Linked DNA regions of Homo sapiens: regions 1, 2, 4, 5, 6 and 7 are each linked to region 3. Evidence: promoter capture Hi-C in 16 types of primary human blood cells and fetal thymus (Javierre and others, 2016). All regions are on one chromosome and are shown on one strand. The core of a region is centred on a gene start or on the middle of the fragment in contact, and the rest is flanking DNA. Distances in the headings are between cores, read along the strand shown. Region 1 has its middle 100 kb from the start of ESM1. Region 2 has its middle 35 kb from the start of ESM1. Region 3 holds the start of SNX18 (sorting nexin 18). Region 4 has its middle 120 kb from the start of LINC02998. Region 5 has its middle 86 kb from the start of ESM1. Region 6 holds the start of ESM1 (endothelial cell specific molecule 1). Region 7 has its middle 69 kb from the start of ESM1.

Region 1 (2,700 bases), core at 123-2,622, 360 kb before region 3:
GGATCAAATTCTAAAGTCTTATTCACTGCATTTTAGGCGTAGACAAATAGTGTCCTTGCTGCCTACACTCTTGCTGATTTCATAGGAGCTTTGCAGCACCTTCCAGCGATGACCCACCCCTGGAGTAGAGGATGCCTCACCTTCCCCTTGTGGCAGTGGGGAGGCCGGGCTCTGTTCTCAGCTCTGCTCCTTCCGTCCTGGATTTTCCTGTACCGCTTCCCCGCCCATTCCTGCCTGGTTCCCAGAGTGGATAGCACAGGGAACTGGAGGCCTAGGGCTACTGTGACTGTGGCTTTGAGGGGGAAGATGTGAGTTGCAGGCCAGGGAGATCTGAGAGTGCAGTGAGTGCCACGCGGGGACAGATTGGGTGGTGATGGGCAAGGATCCAGTGATCCAAGTGGTCAGTGTAGGGTGATAGGAAGCATTGCAGTCAGATGGATGTGGCTTCAATCAGGGTGCTGTCCTATATTCTTAGAATTTGGGGAAGTTACTTCTCTGAGTCTTGATTTTTATCTATGTAAAATGGAGATGATGATAGCTTCTTCAGAGAGGCTTAAATAAAATACTATGTAAGACTGCCTAGCAGCCTGAGAACCACTCATTAAATACTCATTTCCATCCTTTCCTACTCATTACCCTCCTTTCCTCCCCATCTGTGCAATTACCTTGGGTAAGTGCCAGTGGATTAGAAATCCATTTAGGGGAGAGAATGTGGGTAATGGAGATTTATTGAATAAAGAATTCCATAGCATATATTTTAGCATATATGCTGTTCTTCATCCATGGTGCCGATGGCATGACAAATATTGAATACCAAAGTCTTATTCAAATCTACTTTGGCATACTTGGAAGAATATTTTCTTGAGTAGCCAGATGCATTATATGAATTTAAGTTTCTTCCTTAGCTCCTTGGGTGATTCAGGCTATTGCCTTTAGGTCGGTTCTGCTCTCAGTCCTTGAAGAACAAAGGGTGACGTGTCCTGGGCTTGGCAAGTTTCATCACGGTGGGAAACCACCTTTGTCTAGTGACAAAATACTGTCTAGATAGAAATATCTTTATTTGTAAATCATCTATTAGTGCTACCAAAACTAGACCACTCAGCACTAGACTCAATCAATGGTTCAATGGTTCAATGGTTCAATAATTTCTCATTGTTTGACTACCTTCTTGTCAGATCTCCTTAGCGTATTACTGCCTTACCTTGTAACAAGGCTGGTGGAGAACTTGTCCAGGAAGAGAATCACCAGCATCGCTTGTTCCTCTGCGTTACTGGTCCTTACATTATTTGTATATAGCTTTAGCCTGTGGTTTGTTTGGAGGAATTTTGTAAGCTCCTGATCATATTTGTCAGGACTTGTTTAGTTACAGTGAGATAATGCAATTAGTAGACCCAGTTATCCAGGCAAACCTGCCGGTGGTGTGTACTGAATGTGGGGAGAGAGAGAGGGCATCACAGTCACTTTCTACATTGTAGAAGCCCCACCCATCCCTTAGGAGACTTGTGTACTGAGCAGATGAAACTCACACTCAGCAGGTGAGGCCGTCTCATGCCAGTTGAGACAGGATGTCAATCAGTCTGTAAATTTCAAATGAAAAAAATCTTCAGTTCTTACTGGTTTTTAGATACAACAACCCCAGAAGTCCTAACATTTTCTTTTGGTTCCAAAGTAAATAACTTGGCATCCCACGTTACCATTTCTTCTCCAAAGCTGTGGTGCCCAAACCCTAATGTTTTCAGGAGCCAGTGAGTCATAGTGAGCCAAGCAGCCACTTAGTGTGGCAGGAGGTGACGCAGAGTGGTGGGTACCCTGTGGTTGAAGCATCCACACCCCATACATGGTTGCTATGTTGTGGGAACTAATGAGTCCCAGGGTGCCCTGACCATCTGGCTTTTCTAGAGAAGCCAAAAAGTCCAGGTTTTTCTTTAAAATCTCCTGGTTTTAACTTTTTTCTTTTTAAATAGGGCTGTACAGGACATACAAATCACCATAAAGCCCTCTCGGCCTTTGCTCCGGAGGCCCTTAGCTACTGCCTTATTGACCTCTGTATTCCCAGCACATAGTCCATTAACCTACAAATAATAGATGCTCATTAAGTACAAGTGACTGAAGGATAGAATGCTCCTGGGGAGTGTGGTAGGCAGAAAACCAGGCCCCCAGAGATGTTCATGTCCTAATCTCTGAATGTGTGAATATATTGCTTTATATGGGAAAAGGGACTTTGTAGATATGATTATATTTAGGATTTTGAAATGAAGAGAGGATCCTGGGTTATCTGAATGGGCCCTGAATATCAGAAGGGTCTTATAAGAGGGAAATAGGAGAGTGAGAGTTGGAGGAGGAGATGGGAAGCTGAGGTTGAAGAGGTGTGATTGCTGGCTGGGGCCACACGCCAAGGAAAGCAGGTGGCCTCTAGCAGCTGGAAAATGAAGAAAATAGATTCTCCCCTAGAGCCTCTAGAAGGAAGGCAGCCCTTCAGACACCTCGATTTTAGCTCAATGGGACCGCTTTCAGATTCTGACCTCCAGAACTTATAAGATAATAAATTTGTGTTAGTGTAAGCCACTCAATTTGTGGCAATTTGTTATAGTAGCAACAGGAAACTTATACAGGGAGTTTTTGTCTTAGTAAAAGAGATAATTCAATGGCCATATAATCTTATGGGGGCATGAGATGGCAGTGCCATCAGAGAGGAATGAG
Region 2 (2,743 bases), core at 219-2,718, 430 kb before region 3:
ACTGGTGTAAAACACATTATTACTATTTTAATAGCTGACAGCAGAATTTCCCTTAGGGAAGAAGCAAAAAATAGTGGATCCCCACAGCCTAGAGGTACTGACACCAAGGCTTTACGAAAGAGAGAAGAAGAATTCTGCATGAAGAAGGAAGGGAATTTGTCTCTCTCTTGGGAAGAGAGAAGGTCATTTGATCTCAGCCTAGTGATACAGTGCTGCTTCTCCAGCTGTCTATACAGCCTGTTACTTCCGGCATTCTGTTCTTCATGTGAACAGTTCCTACTTACATAATGACCTCTAGGCTAGAACTTCCTAGGTCAGTTATACACCAAGATCTAAGCATTTTAGAAACGGAGATGTTAGCAAGTTTATCTAGGCAATTAAAATAATGTTCCATTTCGTAGACTGAATAGGGTGGGAAAGATGAGACAGCAGAGGAAGAGAGGAACCAGCAAGATGTAGCAAGGCTGGGTTCAGGTAATGTGACCAGTCATGAAGCTCAAACCACTCACTGGTGGGTTAGCTGGGAACATTTCAAAGACAGTGATGGTTGTGATTTAATTTGCAGTTGTTTGTGTTGTTCCATTGCAAATGTGTTTTCCATCACCTTCAAACAAACCCAAAAGCTTCAGCAAAGTCTACCTTGCTCTCAAGCCCCTAGGATGAGTGAGGTTTTACTAGGTGGAACTCAGCAAAGGAGCTAATATTATGTCTGAGTGAACCCAGTACAACCAGAAGCAGTGTCCTAAAAAGCAAAGATGTGATTTTGAAAGGGCAGACATCTCGGAGATTGATTTAAAATTCTACAGGCTGGGAAATTTAGGGGTTCTAGGCACCTCCGATCTTGGCAATCTGATGCCAGAAAACACTCTTCTTCTGCTTGCAAAATGGGAGCAAAAACCCTGGGCCTTCAAGGTTCCTGTCATTCAACTATGCTACCATTTCTTCCTCCTTACTGGTCACCTACCAGCCTCCGGCTGTCTTCCCCTCCATTGCTGATGACTTGGACTCTTGGCTCACAGGTATCCTGTTAAATTGTCACCCTGGGTCACTTTATAACCTTGTGGACAATCCATCCAACACTGGGACCTCTCACAGCCACCACCGTCTTATCTACAATGCCTTCTCTTCTTTTTACCCAGTAAATCCACAGTCTACTTTGGACCAAAATTGCTCATAACTGTGTTACCTTCCAAATCACAAATTCAGATAATTTGCTGTCTGACTACAGTCTGTCCTCCTTTCAATCTGCCCAATTAATCACATCATGAATACTCTTAAGCCATATCGGGACCTTCAGTTTCCAATCCACTGGCCTCTTCACATCTCCACTTCCTTCCTTATTCATCTGGGATTTCATGGTACATCAATTTTGAAAATCACATCAAAACAAAACAAAACAGCTCTTGCCAATTTCTCAAATTTGTTTGGACCTCTGGCTTTTTGCTTCATTCATCTGACAAAACCCTCACACAGGAAACACTCAATTGTCCGGCCCTTCAGGTTGTCAATTGAGGAATAACTCCTACTTGAGATCTTTCTGTACATGGACTTTAGGTGTTGCTTTTAACTGATATAGTGTTGAAAATAGAGTTACACAATTGTGTGATCTAGGGTGGATGTTTAAATACCGCAATCCATATCAGTCATTATTTATATCCAAGCTGAATTTTTTTTTTTTTTGAGATGGAGTCTTGCTCGGTCACCCAGGCTGGAGTCCAGTGGCATGATCTTGGCTCTCTGCAACCTCCGCCTCCTGGGTTCAAGTGATTCTCCTGCCTCAGCCTCCCAAGTAGCTGGGACGACAGGCACCTGCCACCACCCCTGGCTAATTTTTAGTAGAGGCAGAGTTTCACCATGTTGGCCAGGCTGGTCTCGAACTCCTGACCTCAAATGATCCACTCACCTCGGCCTCCCAAGTGCTGGGATTACAGGTGTGAGCCACCGTGCCAGGCTCTGATCTAATTTTTTGATCTCACTTCCCAAGCCAGGCATCTCTCACATTCTCCATCCCTTTTTTTCTTACTTCTCTTTCTCCCTCAACACATCAAATAATTATCAAATCTTGTTGATTCTAAGTCTAAAATCACTCTCAACTTTCAACCTTTCTTCTTCCCTGCTGCTACTGCCATGGTTCAATTCTCTCATTTCTGTTACAGACAATGGAAATCACTTCCCAACTGGCTTTACTGCTTCCCATCTCTAGCCTTTCCATTTCTTCTTCATTTTTACAAAATGCACAACAGATTATGCTATTTCTGCTGCTAAAGTCTCTAATGAACCACCAGTACTTGCAGTATTCTTAGTGAAGCTTAAAATCTTTTACATTCAGTCCCCTAGAAGTCTTTCCAGACCTACCTCCTACTCTCTTCCTCACACACTTTTCACCCTGGCTGCAACACATGATTCTGTGTTCCTAAAGTACACACTGGACATCAGCACTCTCCTTGTCACTGCTCACATTGTTTCCTTGATGATGAAGTCTCATAGTCTTCATCTGTTCTCACTCTACTTAGCCATCAAAACATATATCTGTATATATACATATATGAATATGAATATATATACACACACACACACACACACACACATACCTAGATTCTCTGGTGTACATATGTGCATATACACTCAGTGCGTGCTGGTAAATGTCTAACAACCAGTTCTCAGGGGGAAAAATCCCCAACTAGTTTTGTATGATGATTTCTATGGTATAAATATTCTACCATGGATGATTACAGCTACCTGT
Region 3 (2,700 bases), core at 1-2,500:
GCGCTTAGAGATGAAGTCCTCCTCGAAGCGGCCGGTGGCCTGCTTCTCGGGCAGGTGGGGCACGGAGATGACCGGGAACTTCTCCGCCAGGCGCGCGTACAGCCAGTCGAAGTGCTTGTAGCGCCGATGCACCGGCACCTGCGTGTGCGTGGGCACCAGCTTGTAGGAGATGTAGCTCTTCATGCCCTTGAACTTGGTCTGCTTGGTGGGGTCGTCGATGGTGCACTGGAACGGGTAGGGGTTCTCCTGCCACTCGGGGCCATAGGGCCCCAGCACCACGCACAGCTTGTCCCCGTCCTTCACGAAGCCTGACGCCTCCCCCAGCACGAAGGCCTCCCCGCCGGACTTGACGAAGGTGGAGAAGCGATTGAGGTTGCGGCTCACGGTGGCCGAGCTCTTGGGCCCCGACGGGTGGTGCTGCGGGGGGACCGAGCCGCCGCGGGAACCCAGGGACAGGTCGGAGCGCGTGGACAGGCGGTAGCGGCCGGCTGCGCCCACACCCGCCGAAGACGAGCCGTCGAGGTCCGGGTATGCTCCGCTGCCCAGAGCGCCCGGCTCGTCCGCCACCGTGGAGCTGTCGTCCCACTCGTCGTCCCAGTCATCATCGCTGCCTTGGCTGGCCTGGTAGCCGCCGTAGAGCTGCTGAGGCGACGGCTGCAGGGCGCCCCCGCCGTACGGGAAGCCCGCGCCGGGCGGCTGGAAGGTGCTCGGAGGCGGCGCCTGCTGTGGCTGCAGCAGCGCCTGGAAGGCGTCAGGCGGCGGCTTGAAGGAGGCGGGGGGCGCGACAGGCAGGGGCTCGAAGCCCCCGGGGGGCACATTGGCGTAGCGGGCCGGGGCGCCCGGGCCGCCGTCTCCCGCCGGGCCAGGCTCGGGGGCGCGGATCACCTGCACATAGGAGGCCGGGAAGAGGCCGCGGTCGCCGCGGCTGTTGACCCCCTCGAGCCAGCCCTCGATGTCCTGCTCGCTGCACAGGCTCAGCACCTCGTGCTCTCGCAGCGAGATCTCTCCTGGGTTCTCCGACCTGAAGTCGTACAGCGCCCGGGCGCGCAGCGCCATGGTCCCGGCGCCCCGACTGGCGGTCCCGACTCCCGGCGTCCCGAGCCGAGGCCCACCTGAGGGGCCCGCGGTACTGCTCGAGCCCTGGCGCGCGGACTGGAGCCCCGAAGGCGGCAAACCCACGCTGCCCGGACCAGCCGGTCGCGCCCTCCGCGCGGCTCCGCTCGCAGCGCCTCCACTTCGCAGCGCCGACTGCCGCGCTGGGCCGCCGCAGCCGCCGCCGGTCGGGGGCGGGGCCCGCGGCCTCCCACGTCTCCAGCTGCGCTAATCCACGGCCGAGAGCCCCTTGCCAGGCGAGAGCAAGCGATGGCCGAGCCGCCGAGCCCACCGCCCGCGTCGGCTTTGCGGCGGCCACTGCCCTCTAGTGGCCGGTGCCGCGAAGCCGGGCGCCGTAGTGAGCGCGGCTGAAGGAGGTTTCTACTCCGAAGTGAATTATCTGAGATTTCTTTAGGCTTTTAAGTTAAACATTCTCTAGAAAGTAAGTTAGCATTTGCATGCCTGATAAACGTTCCCACTCTGAGCGCTCAGTGAATGCTCCTAGAATGGCAACCCAGTCATGTAATAAAGCATTTTGCAATGCGAATTAGTGATTGCACTAAGAAAACAGGATGCCTCTGCGGAGGAGCTGTTCACCTACAGAGCAGGCTCCCTTCCCTCTTCTGCTCAAGGAGAGGAGATTGGCAAGAACAAAGTAAGGGCCAGGGAAGGTGCTGTGATTGACAAAATTAGAAGCAAAGGATCATGTAGAGAGGGAGGAGCTGGAGAGTTTCCAGTACAATAAATGCTCACACATTTATTACATGCATGTGTCGCCTATCCTCCCATAGATATATGTAGTGCGGTGAATGAGAGCTCAAACTTCGGAGCCAGGCTTCTGAATTTCAATCTGTGTTCTGACACTACCTAGCTGTATGACCTGGAACAAGGCACTTATATCGTACCTACCTCCGGGGGTTGTTGTGGGGATTCCATCATAAAGTAATCCCTATTTTACAGATGAGGAAAGTGAAACAATATCTGGCAGGGTAAGCAGATTTGAAGGGTTTGTTGCTGCTTTTGCTGCTGTTACTGTTATTTGGGGGAAGCAAAATCCCTGGCCTCTTTCACAAAGGGAATAGGGGTACTAAACTAACAATTGCAGGGTACATGCACCAGGAAGCGTCCCAATGTTCACATTGCCACTCCTAGTAAGAGGTCAGTGACCATCCATCCATCTGTTGTCTCTATGTCTCACTATATTTATATTATTTTTAAGATAAATAGAACAAAAATCACTTCCTGAAATAATCAGCTCCAATCTATCGTTGCCTTGTTTCCTATCTTCCTTTCCTTCAGTGTATAATTTGCCCAAAGCTTTTTCTTCTCTTAATCCCCTCTTATTAAGTCTAGCCTAATTATTCCTTTGAAGACACTTCTAATTGAGGTTCTGCATTCATGTGTCATTAATTTCAGCCTGTCCTCTGACCCTTTTCAAGGAAACCTGGGAAACGGGCCAGAAGAGTGTACAATTATTCTAAGGGCTGTGGTATTGTAAGCATCTTGCACAAAAACACAAACCCACTATACCAGAATCACTCCCACAGTGTTTATCCTAATGCAAAACCTTAATTCAATTCAGTAAGCATATTCTAAATTACATTTTTA
Region 4 (2,700 bases), core at 63-2,562, 340 kb before region 3:
GAGCAAGAGCAACAGCTTTGTGTGGGGAGCATGCCTGGTGTGTCCGAGGAGCAGCAAGTCATCCAGTGTGGCTGGTGCTGCAGGCGTGGTGGGGAGCACAGCAGATGAGTCAGCAGATCAGGTGTGGGAGGGCCCGAGGCTTCACCTTTGACCTGGAGTAAGGAGTGAGAGGGGAGCACTGGGGGATGAGAAGGTGTGAGCAGAGGAGCGCCAAAGATGTCCCTGAACGGAGTTGGTGACAGGGGACCAAATACTTTTGAATCTGTCAAGATTTTCCATTAGTTTGTTGTATCCTTTAATTTCAGGCCAGCAGGTATTGTTCTGGTTTTAGAAGTCTAGGGATAGACAAATCCCCAACATACCCTCTCTTTGCCTTCAGATTAATATTATTAAATGGCATGTCATTTTGGGAAGTGCCACTCCATTAAAGAAATGATGTATTTTTCCGGGAGAAATACTCTGAACATGACTGGTATTTAAAGGTTACATTTCTAAAGTGCATTAAAACTTCTCCCACATTCTGCTTAGAGCCATCTTCCATGTTTGTTTTCAAATAGCTTAAGACAGCATGTTCCAGGAGCACATGCACAGGCCATGAGCTGGAATTCTTCTGCCCACAGAACTCCAAAGAAATTCTCATAGCACCTCTGTACGAGTGGACACAACTTTCTCTTGAGACCCTTCATGAACTTTTCAACTCTTGTCAGAAACACCTCTGAAAGATCAAAAGACTTTACTCAGAGGAAGTATGCCACAGGAATGCGTGAACTTGAACTGTTAAAAATTTTGGCTGTATTTTATCAAAATAAACACAATCCCAGATACTTTTTCAGAAGTTCAGCTACTCCTTTTGGGGTTTGGGAGTTCTCTGCTGTACGTTTGGGTCACAGACTCACTGCAGCTAAGTTCCCTTTTAGTTTTATAATCCTCTTGGTCTCTGATTTTGATTCTGTGCTCTTCAATATTTCCATCAGAGTTTTAAAGACATGAAAGGCATTTTGATCAAAGTTGTGGTTATGACAAATCCAAGAGGAATAACTAATTCTCTGGAGGACGATTTCAGAGCAAACATTAAAAGGATGAAATCTGACCAGCCTGGGCAACATGGTGAAACCTCCTCTCTACCAAAAATACAAAAAAATTCCCTGGGCATGGTGGTGGGTGCCTGTCTTCCCAACTACTTGGGAGGCTGAGGTGTGAGGATCGCTTGAGCCTGGGAGGTGAAGGTTGCAGTGAGCTGAGATCATGCCACTGCACTCCAGCCTGGGTGACAGAGTAAGACCCCATCTCAAAAAAAAAAAAAAAAAGGATAAAATATGACAAAAGTAAAAGTAAATGCTTGCATTTGGATTATTATAGAGAGGGAGATCTGTGTGGTTGATTTCAGTGTAATTCATCACAGTCTGTCCACAGGGGATGTATGTTAGGTAGTTACGGGTAGCATCCTTTATTAGTTGCACAAAAACCTATTGTATTCTGAAGGAGAAGGAGCAGGATTATAGAAGTATAACCTCAGTAGGAAATATAACCTCACATACAAAGAACAGTTAAAGGACCAACGCATACTTAGTTTAGAAAAGAGAAATTTGGGCAAACTTAATAGTTGCTCTCGTCCATATGTCTCTAAAGGAGAAACTCAAGCAATGGATGAATAGAAGTTTCAGAGCTGAAATCTAACAGTTTGAATTGTCAAACAAAGCGATTACCAGCCTCAAAAATTAGTCACTAACAACACACTTTCATGTTAAGGTAGCACTTTTACCTCAGATCTTCTGATGATCAGTCCAGCATTCTCTCTGCTACACCACATTGCTCAATCGCTTTGTTCCTCCTTAATCTTTTTTTTTTTTTGAGGATGCACAGGAAGCATTTAATAAATTCAAGAGGAATTCAGCCTCACAAATTATGAAATATTGGGAAATCATTCATCATGTAAAAACTGGATATAAAAAGAAATCTTTCCTCTAGGAGATAGCCTCTTCAAAAAATAAAAAAAAATAAAAACCTACAGCCAAGCCAATAAAATGGAGCACATATCTCAGCAGAACTGCAGACAATTATGCTGATATTACTACTTTTAGTTGGTGTTGTGCTGCACGTTGAAATCAGTCCAGTAAAGCAAGAAAAAGTATATATAGAGAGATAACTAATGACTGAAGTGGAAAAATAAGAGTCATTATTTACAGATTATGTGATTGCCTATGTGGAAAGGGAAAAGAATCATATTAAGTACTTTGGACTGAATGATAACCCCCAAAATTCATATGTTGAAGCTCCAAATCCCAGTGTGACTATATGTGAAAATAGGATCTTTAGGAAGTATCATGAAATTATGTTGAGAGATGGCAGGGGAGAGAGAGAGAGAGAGAGAGAGCGAGAAGAGAGGAGCGAAAGACAGAGAGAGAGACAGACTGACTGACCTATTTGTTGGTCTCCATCATGTGAAGACATGAGGAAGTGGGCATTTACATACCAGGAAGAGAGCTCTCACCAGAAGCTGACCATGCTGGCACTCTGGTCTCAGACTTCCAGCCTCCAGAAATGTGAGAATATAAATTTCTGTTTTTAACCTCCTTTATTTAAAATTAAATGAATTTGTAAGCCATTTGGTCTGTGGTATTTTGTTATGGTGGCCTGAGCTCATTAAGGCAGATTTTGGTACTGAGAAGTGAGGTATTGCAATTAAAAACAAAGAAACAA
Region 5 (2,700 bases), core at 137-2,636, 380 kb before region 3:
CACTGGCTGCTGTCAATCCACTGACTTGCTTTAACTTTCTTCCTTCATTGTAAAGTCTTGCTCCCAAATGCTCTGTGAGGACACTCGTTGAAGTGGCTATCATTGATTTATATTTCTGTGTGAGGAATTCCAGCCCCTTTCTTCAGGGTAGGTTTTTACTCTGAGAAATTATGAAGATGGCAGAGGAATAGAAGGGTCCCCATGGGAACAAAAGCAGGACTGGCATTTGGGGGTATTAAGATACACACTTTACTGACTTCTAAATTTTCCTTGAGGTCTCTGAGTTCTGCTGTAAAATAGTTTGGCTGGCTTTCCATTACTCTCCTATGAAAATGGTAAACTGACAACTTCAAATAGAAAAAAATTTCATATTAATTTCTTCATTTCTTCATCAACTACTTATTGAGTACATGCTGTGTCAGCTGCTGGTCCAGACCCTGGGGAGATAACACAGCATCGATGGTCACTTGGATTAGAGCAGCAACAGAGATGGAGAGAAGCAGATTGATTTGAGTCATGTTTAGATGTAGGGCTAACAGGACTTTGGGTATAAGGAAAAGAGATGAATGAGTGTTGATTCGTAAGGTTTGGACTTGAACCATGAGATAGATGGTGGTGCTATTACAGAGATGAAGGGGATGAGAGGAGGACCAGGCTTGCAGAGCAGAAGTCAAGGCTTCCATTTTTGTCACATTAATTTTGAGATGACTATTTGACAACTGGGGGAAAATGGCAAGCAGGCCTATCTTATTCAGTTCAGGCTGTCATAACATAAGGCCCCATGGACTGGGTGGCTTAAATAACAAACATTTTATTTCTCATAGTTCTAGAAGCTGGGAAGTCCAAGATCAAGGTGCCTGCACATCCAGTGTCTGGTGAGGGCATTCTCCTTGGTTTGTAGACAGCTGTCTTCTCATCGTATCCTCACATGGTAGAGAACAGAGAGAGGAAGCTAGCTCTCTGGTCTCTCCCAATAAGGAAACTAATCCCATTAATGTGGGCTCCATTTTCAAGATCGAATTACCTCTCAAGGCCCCCACTCCTAATACCATCACATTGAGGGTTAGGATTTCAGCATTTGAATTTGGGCAGGGAGGTGGGGGAGAAGGCCAGACATTTGGTCCATAACAAGGGCTTTGGATACACAAGTAAGGCTGAAACCCAGGGGGCCCCTCAGAACCAGAAGTATGAATTTGGGAGTCCTTTCCATGTAGTACTTCAAACCATGGGGCGGGAAAAAATTTGTAGATGGAGAAGAAGAGAGCAGGTAGGGCTGAGCTCTGAGTGCAGAGATGGCTTAGAGGACATGGAGCTAGCAGAGGAGACTAAGCAGGTGCAGTCACTGAAGTGGGAGGTTAACACAGAGCCTGTTGCTTTATGGAAGCCAAGAAAGGAAAGGATTTCAAGGAAAGAGCAGTCAGTTTGAATGCTACTGAATGTAGGGCGAGATGAGAACAGAGAGTACCATCAGGTGTGGTGATTGGCGCTTTCTGCTCTCATCTCATCCTACCTTCAGTAGCTCAGCAGGAAACAGAAATTATACTGCCCTGATTGAATGGGTGCAAAGAGAAGGGGACATCATGTGCTTCAAAGAGTTGGATCAGAAGAGTTGGGGGGAAGTTAGGTATGGTGAAGGGACTATAATATCAGGAAAGGGATTTTTAGGATTAGAATATCCTTTTTAGCTGGAAAAATAGAGAGGGGGATATTGAAGATTGCAGGAGAGAAAGAAAAAGAGAGAGAGAGACGCCTTGAAGAAGCAGAAGGGAATGGGATCTAGAGGCAAGTGGAGGTTTGCCCTGAATAAGTAACTCTAGTGCCTGTAACAAGATGCCGGGTGCAGGGATGACGAGGCTGGGTTGAGGTTGGTCAAAAAGAGACTAAACTCCAAAAGAGGTGAGAAAGCGGAGACAGTGAAAGGAAATGACGCTTTCCAAAAGAAGACTTCTTTCTCTGTGCTAAAGGAAAGGATACATGTTGGGCTACGGAAATGGGATGGAATTTGGAGTTAAAACACTTGAGTCCCAGGATTGAGACTCATCTTAAGCTACTGAGTGTAGCTTACCTGCCCAACAGATTTTTCTGAGGGGAAAAAAGGGGCAATTCACCTACTCAAAAGAATCAAGATGTAATTATTTTCTTAGAATATCTCCACAATTTGATCATGAGGGCTTATCAAAATTTCATGAAAACAGACATTGCATGAATACTCTTAGTATCCACTTATTCATTCATTCATTCATTCCACAGATAGTCATTGAAAACCCATTATGGCCCAAGCACTGCTGCAGGCATTGGGGTTGCTCAGTGACCATACCAAGTCTCTGCCACATAGAGTTTACATTAGAGTGGGAAGGAAAACTATAAATAAGGATCTATGTATACCAGATGGTTATCAATGTTGTGGAGAAAAAGCAGCTTATGCAGAATGGAGGAGCTGTTATCTATGGTGACTATGGGAGTCCTCACCAGTTAGAGTACATTTAAGCAGAGACAGCAGCATGGGACAAGCCATGAGGACGCAGATGCTCCTCATTTTACAATGGGGTTATGTCCCTAGAAGCCCATCAGGAACCTCATAAGCCTATCATAAGTTGAAAATATTGTTAGTCAACAGTGTGTTTTCAACTTACGGTATTTTCAATTTACAATGGGTTTATCCAGATGCAACCCCATCGGGAGCTAAGGAGTGCACTGAAT
Region 6 (2,700 bases), core at 127-2,626, 470 kb before region 3:
GCCCGCTCTGCCTCATCTTCTATGGGAAACAAGAATTTTAGAGGTCAGGTAGCCTAACACCATCAATTCTCAAAAGAGGAAGCTGAGGCCAAGAGAAGTCCTGTGAATTTCTTACAGCTCATTTGTGACAGACCAAGAATTACCCACTTTACTGGGTTGTTATTTACTAAGTGACAGTGAGTCTATATCTCTTTTGACAAGTGAGGTGGGGGCATGGAATTCGGCATGTGGTTGGTGTAAGAACTCCCCTCTCTCCTCTTTAACCTTACTTAATAAGACCCTGGCACAGTTGATATTTTAAGAGGGCTACTCTGTTTTCCCAGAGGGACCTAGGCACGGTAACCCTCTTAGCATGCAGACCTTGTTTCCTGAGGGGTAATGTTTCCCTTCCCTGTGACTTGTTTCTTGGGGGCTGTGTTCTGATTTTCCTGCTGAGCCACTTGTTGCCTTGGGCTGGCTGCCGCGCTTGGCAGTTTTTAGTGAGGGCTCTGATAGATGCCAGGAGGTGAGGGGAAGGGCTCTGGGTGGACTCCGTCATTGGACAAGCAGACTTAGTGATGGATGAGCCTTCCCCTGAGGAAGTTTTGGATCAGAAGTCCAACTGATAAGTTTTTCCAGAATTGAGTAACCCAGAAGCAGTGCCGAAAGGATCTTACCTCTCTTGTGGCTTTTTGTATTGATTTTAAAAGAAATTCTCAGAGGCAGTTCCACATTGTACTGGAAGCACAGCTATATCCACAATAGGCTTAGATATATGTAACATGAATTGCTTTAGAAATAACATTTGAGGAGAGGGGTGAGAGGAAGGAAGAGAGGGTCTTAAAAAATAGCCCTATCAAAATATTTTCTTTCTTCTAAGTATTGAAAAGACACAATATAACCCTTTCTTCTTTCAAATGATCTCATAGCTATTTGTTGAGGGGAAATACCAAATGTTTATTATTTTTTTTGAAGAAGCTTCTTCGGTCCTGATGATTCATGTTGATATCATTTTCCTCCTGACTACAGAGGCTCTGAGACAAAGCTACACCTCAAGTGATATGCCAGGGTCAGAACAATTCCCGTCCTGAAGGAGGGTGTGCAACCTTCTTTATCCCTCCTTCACAGACGTCCTTGAGCCCTTGAGACGGATGTGAGTGAGTTTTTCAGTCCTCATGCAAAACAACCATCTAAACATAACAGATGACATCAGCTTGGGCTTTTCAATTCCTGGATGGCAGCAGCGTGTTAATCCAGCCTTCATCCTGGATTTCATAAACCAAAACAAGAGAGCCTGGCAGGAGGACAGCGCTGCTGCTGGGTTGAGGAAATTGATGACGGGAAAGCATGCGGGCAACCCAGTGTATAAAACTCATAAACGTGTAGGCAGAGGCTCAGCTACCAGTTTGGACGGCTGCTTCCCACCAGCAAAGACCACGACTGGAGAGCCGAGCCGGAGGCAGCTGGGAAACATGAAGAGCGTCTTGCTGCTGACCACGCTCCTCGTGCCTGCACACCTGGTGGCCGCCTGGAGCAATAATTATGCGGTGGACTGCCCTCAACACTGTGACAGCAGTGAGTGCAAAAGCAGCCCGCGCTGCAAGAGGACAGTGCTCGACGACTGTGGCTGCTGCCGAGTGTGCGCTGCAGGGCGGGGAGAAACTTGCTACCGCACAGTCTCAGGCATGGATGGCATGAAGTGTGGCCCGGGGCTGAGGTGTCAGCCTTCTAATGGGGAGGATCCTTTTGGTGAAGAGTTTGGTATCTGCAAAGGTAAAGAGTGACCCCTTACCTCTCCCCTCCCGGGGCATGCTGAGAGCTTTTAGCCAGCTTGGGAGGTGAGGTGGCTTTGCTCCTCAAGAGTAAGAGGGAAAAGGCAGGTGGATTCTTGACAAGGCACCACACAGGTATTGTCATGGGTAGAGACTGAAGGATAGCTCCAAGTAGCAACTGAAACCAGTGTGCAGGAAGGCACAGAAAGAAGTGTGGCATTTTACTCGTTGCCTTAGGAGATCGCAAAAAGAAAGCTGCAATGGAAGATTGTGTTGGCTCCTTTTCTGGAAAACTTTAGAAACTTGACAGGTAATCTGTTAAGGATGGCTTAGGTGCTCTCTCCTCTGCGAGGCAGCGATTACAAAGGTCTGCACTAGATAACCTCTTGGAATGGTTTCTAGCCCCCAGATTTAGTGATTCTTTGATCTTGAAAGGGTCCACAGGATGGAGGGCCACTCTCAAGATCAAATATTTCTGATAAACACAAATGCACTTTATGGAATAGAGTGAGCTTAAGTCATCTAACAAAATAACTCACTCTTCAAAGAGGGTCCCCTGAAGCATAAAACAAACCTCATCTGACTTTATAAAGGTTTTGGTCATCTGGAAAAATAGCAGATGGTGTTAAGACAAGGAAAAATAACAATAGAGAAAAATAAAAACTGGAAGTCTGTAAAGAATGAGGTTGACCACTTGTACACTTAAAGAAAAACTTCGTCGGTTGAAATTTTAGCTAAATAATGTAGTTAAGCATTTGTAGAATTTATTTTAAACATAGTAACTAGTTTAAAATATTTAACATTTTAAAAATGTTTAGAATAAAAAGAATGATGATTTAAAAATACTCTACGTATAGATATCTCATGATCTTATTATGAAGAGCTATTATTAAGAAGCAACACATGCTATAACCCCATCCATCAGTTGTGTAATACCAGGAAGCTTTCA
Region 7 (2,700 bases), core at 144-2,643, 400 kb before region 3:
GTGCCACAATAAACATACGTGTGCATGTGTCTTTATAGCAGCATGATTTATAATCCTTAGGGTATATGTCCAGTAATGGGATGGCTGGGTCAAATGGTATTTCTAGTTCTAGATCCTTGAGGAATCGCCACACTGTCTTCCACAATGGTTGAACTAGTTTACACTCCCACCAACAGTGTAAAAGCATTCCTATTTCTCCACATCCTCTCCAGCACCTGTTGTTTCCTGACTTTTTAATGATTGCCATTCTAACTGGTTTGAGGTGGTATCTCATTGTGGTTTTCATTTGCATTTCTCTGATGGCCAGTGATGATGAGATGTGTCTGTTGGCTGCATAAATGTCTTCTTTTGAGAAGTGTCTGTTCATATCCTTTGCCCATTTTTTGATGGGATTGTTTGAATTTTTCTTATAAATTTGTTTAAGTTCTTTGTAGATTCTGGATATTAGCCCTTTGTCAGATGGGTCCAACCTAAGGCACATTATTCTTAAGTGCACATGGAAAATTATCCAGAATAGAACATCTTTTACAACATAAAATCATCTCAATAATTTAAAAAGAATTGAAATCATACCAAGTCTGTTTTCCAATGACAATAGAATGAAATTAGAAATCAATAAAATAAAATATTCTGGGAAACTTATACATGTGTGGAAATTAAGAGCAGTTTTACATTACCAGTTGGTCAAAGAAGAAATCAAAAGAGCAATTCAAAAATTATTTGAGATGAATGCAAATAAAAACACAAAACACCCAAATTTATGGAATCAGCAAAAAAAATAATGCTCAGAAGGAAATTTATACTTGTAAATATCTACATTTAAAAGAAGAAAAATCTTGAGTCAATAATGTAAACTATTACTGTAAAAAACCAAAACTAGGGGACATTACTGAAATACAAAGGATTATAAGAGAATACTAATAACAAGTGTATGCCAACAAATTAGATAACCTAGGTAAAATGAACAAATTCCTATAAAGACACAAACTACCAACATTGACTCAAGAAGACACAGAAAATCTAAATAGGCCTATAACAAGTAAAGAGATTGTGTTATTCATTTTTTTTAACTCACGAATTAAAGTTCAGGACCAGATGGCTTTACTGGTGAATTCCACCACATATTTAAACAAGAATTAACACCAATCCTTCCCAAGCTTTTCCCAAAAAATGGAAGAGGAGGGAATTATTCCCAATTAATTTGATGAGGTCAGATTACCATGATTTCAAAATCAGATAAGGACATCACAAAAAAGGAGACTACCTGCCAATATTACCAATTAATAGAGATGCAAAAATCCTCTACAACATACTAGCAAGCTGAATCTAGCAATATATAAAAAGAATCATATACCACAACCAAGTGAAATTTATCCCAGGAAAACAAGGTTGGCTCACCATATGAAAATCAATCAATGTAATACACTATATTAATAGAAAAAAATTGAAAGAAAACCATGATAATCTCAATAGATACCAAAAAATACTCCAACAAAATTTAACACCATTTTATGATTTTAAAAAAATTACTCAGCAAACTGGGAAAGAAGAGAATTTGCTCAATTTGATGAAGGGCACCTATGAAAAACCCACAGCTAATACACTTAAAAGTGAAAGACTTAAAGCTTTCCCCTATGATCAGGAAGAAGAGGAGGATGTTTGCTCTTACCACTTCTGTTTAGCATCATGCTAGAGGTTCTAGCCAACACAATTTGCTCTCACCACTTCTGTTCAGCATTATACTAAAGATTCTAGCCAGTCTGATTAGGTAAGAAAAGAAACAAGATGCATTCAGGTTGGAAGAGAAGGAATAAAATCAATTTAAGAGAAATAAAACCAATCTTTATTTGAAGATGACATGGTCTTACAGATTTAAAAAAAGCTCTAAAGAATTCACCAAAAACCTGAGCCAATAACTGAGTTCATTCAGCAAGTTTTCAGGATTTAAAATTGATGTACAAAAATGGGTGTATTTTTGTACAGCCAATAATGTACAACTCAAGAAGGAAATTATGAAAACAACTCCAGTTGCAATAATATCAAAAATAATAAAATACTTAGAAATAAATTTAACCAAGGAAGAGCAAGACTTACGTACACTGAAAACTAGAAAACATTGCTGAAATAAATTAAAGACCTAAATAATTAGAAAGACATCTCATGTTCATGGATTGCGATACTTAATATAGTTAAGATGACAATACTTCCCAAATTGACTTACAGATTCAATATAATCCCCATCAAAATCCCCATGCATGTACAAAAGAGGCTTTTTGCACCACAGAAGAGGAACCCCCAAATTATGAATCTGTCCGTTTCTGTAGGAGCATGATGGCTGTTTTTCCCTCCCTCTTTCTTAGAGAAAGAGAAAAATCTGTGCTCCCTAGTCATTTATAGTCTTTTGAATGTAAATAAATTCTTACAGGAAGAGAAAGGGGAAAGTTCCTACCCTGGAATGTAAATATTTGGCTCCTGAAGATATAAATTTTATTTGTCCTGTTAATGGGAACAGATGGCTTCAGATCTAACACCCTTTAACTTCTAAGGTTTGTCCTCTAAACCGGGTTTTAGTTTCCTTTGCTTGGAAAGCCTTATCTGTGCATAAAAATGAAAATATACTCTGTACAGTCCTACAGTTTGTTTGACCTGGTTCAGCAGGTCAGACACAGCCTTGGCTCACTGGGCCAGATGACGGCCATT

The links. The method cuts DNA at HindIII sites, captures the fragments that hold promoters and counts their contacts. A CHiCAGO score of 5 or more calls a contact.
Region 1: a contact is called between a fragment that was not itself captured here and the fragment with the promoter of SNX18 in region 3, in 17 of 17 cell types (monocytes, total B cells, M1 macrophages and 14 more). The highest score is 20.1, in monocytes.
Region 2: a contact is called between a fragment that was not itself captured here and the fragment with the promoter of SNX18 in region 3, in 1 of 17 cell types (naive B cells). The highest score is 5.7, in naive B cells.
Region 4: a contact is called between a fragment that was not itself captured here and the fragment with the promoter of SNX18 in region 3, in 17 of 17 cell types (naive B cells, neutrophils, monocytes and 14 more). The highest score is 29.8, in naive B cells.
Region 5: a contact is called between a fragment that was not itself captured here and the fragment with the promoter of SNX18 in region 3, in 17 of 17 cell types (M1 macrophages, M2 macrophages, M0 macrophages and 14 more). The highest score is 27.6, in M1 macrophages.
Region 6: the fragment with the promoter of ESM1 here is called in contact with the fragment with the promoter of SNX18 in region 3 in 4 of 17 cell types (endothelial precursors, erythroblasts, total CD4 T cells and 1 more); the score reaches 8.2 in endothelial precursors.
Region 7: a contact is called between a fragment that was not itself captured here and the fragment with the promoter of SNX18 in region 3, in 1 of 17 cell types (total CD8 T cells). The highest score is 5.0, in total CD8 T cells.

The regions. Positions count from the first base shown.
Region 1 is chr5:54,880,571-54,883,270 of GRCh38, reverse strand. No RefSeq gene overlaps it. Among named protein-coding and RNA genes, the nearest start is that of ESM1, 100 kb to the left of the region's middle. The HindIII fragment of the contact is 9,105 bases long and covers 1-2,700 here.
Region 2 is chr5:54,948,848-54,951,590 of GRCh38, reverse strand. No RefSeq gene overlaps it. Among named protein-coding and RNA genes, the nearest start is that of ESM1, 35 kb to the left of the region's middle. The HindIII fragment of the contact is 1,685 bases long and covers 626-2,310 here.
Region 3 is chr5:54,516,309-54,519,008 of GRCh38, reverse strand. SNX18 (sorting nexin 18) reads right to left here and starts at 1,250. Exons shown (of 2, transcript NM_001102575.2): 1 at 1-1,250. The coding sequence starts at 1,056. RefSeq lists an enhancer at 1-342 and silencers at 815-1,374, 1,255-1,496. The HindIII fragment of the contact is 5,643 bases long and covers 1-2,411 here.
Region 4 is chr5:54,859,633-54,862,332 of GRCh38, reverse strand. It overlaps the pseudogene CSPG4BP. Among named protein-coding and RNA genes, the nearest start is that of LINC02998, 120 kb to the right of the region's middle. The HindIII fragment of the contact is 7,006 bases long and covers 1-2,700 here.
Region 5 is chr5:54,898,237-54,900,936 of GRCh38, reverse strand. No RefSeq gene overlaps it. Among named protein-coding and RNA genes, the nearest start is that of ESM1, 86 kb to the left of the region's middle. RefSeq lists a silencer at 1,108-1,265. The HindIII fragment of the contact is 5,239 bases long and covers 1-2,700 here.
Region 6 is chr5:54,984,269-54,986,968 of GRCh38, reverse strand. It overlaps ESM1 (endothelial cell specific molecule 1), which reads left to right and starts at 1,376. Exons shown (of 3, transcript NM_007036.5): 1 at 1,376-1,752. The coding sequence starts at 1,452. The HindIII fragment of the contact is 1,737 bases long and covers 960-2,696 here.
Region 7 is chr5:54,915,589-54,918,288 of GRCh38, reverse strand. No RefSeq gene overlaps it. Among named protein-coding and RNA genes, the nearest start is that of ESM1, 69 kb to the left of the region's middle. The HindIII fragment of the contact is 468 bases long and covers 1,160-1,627 here.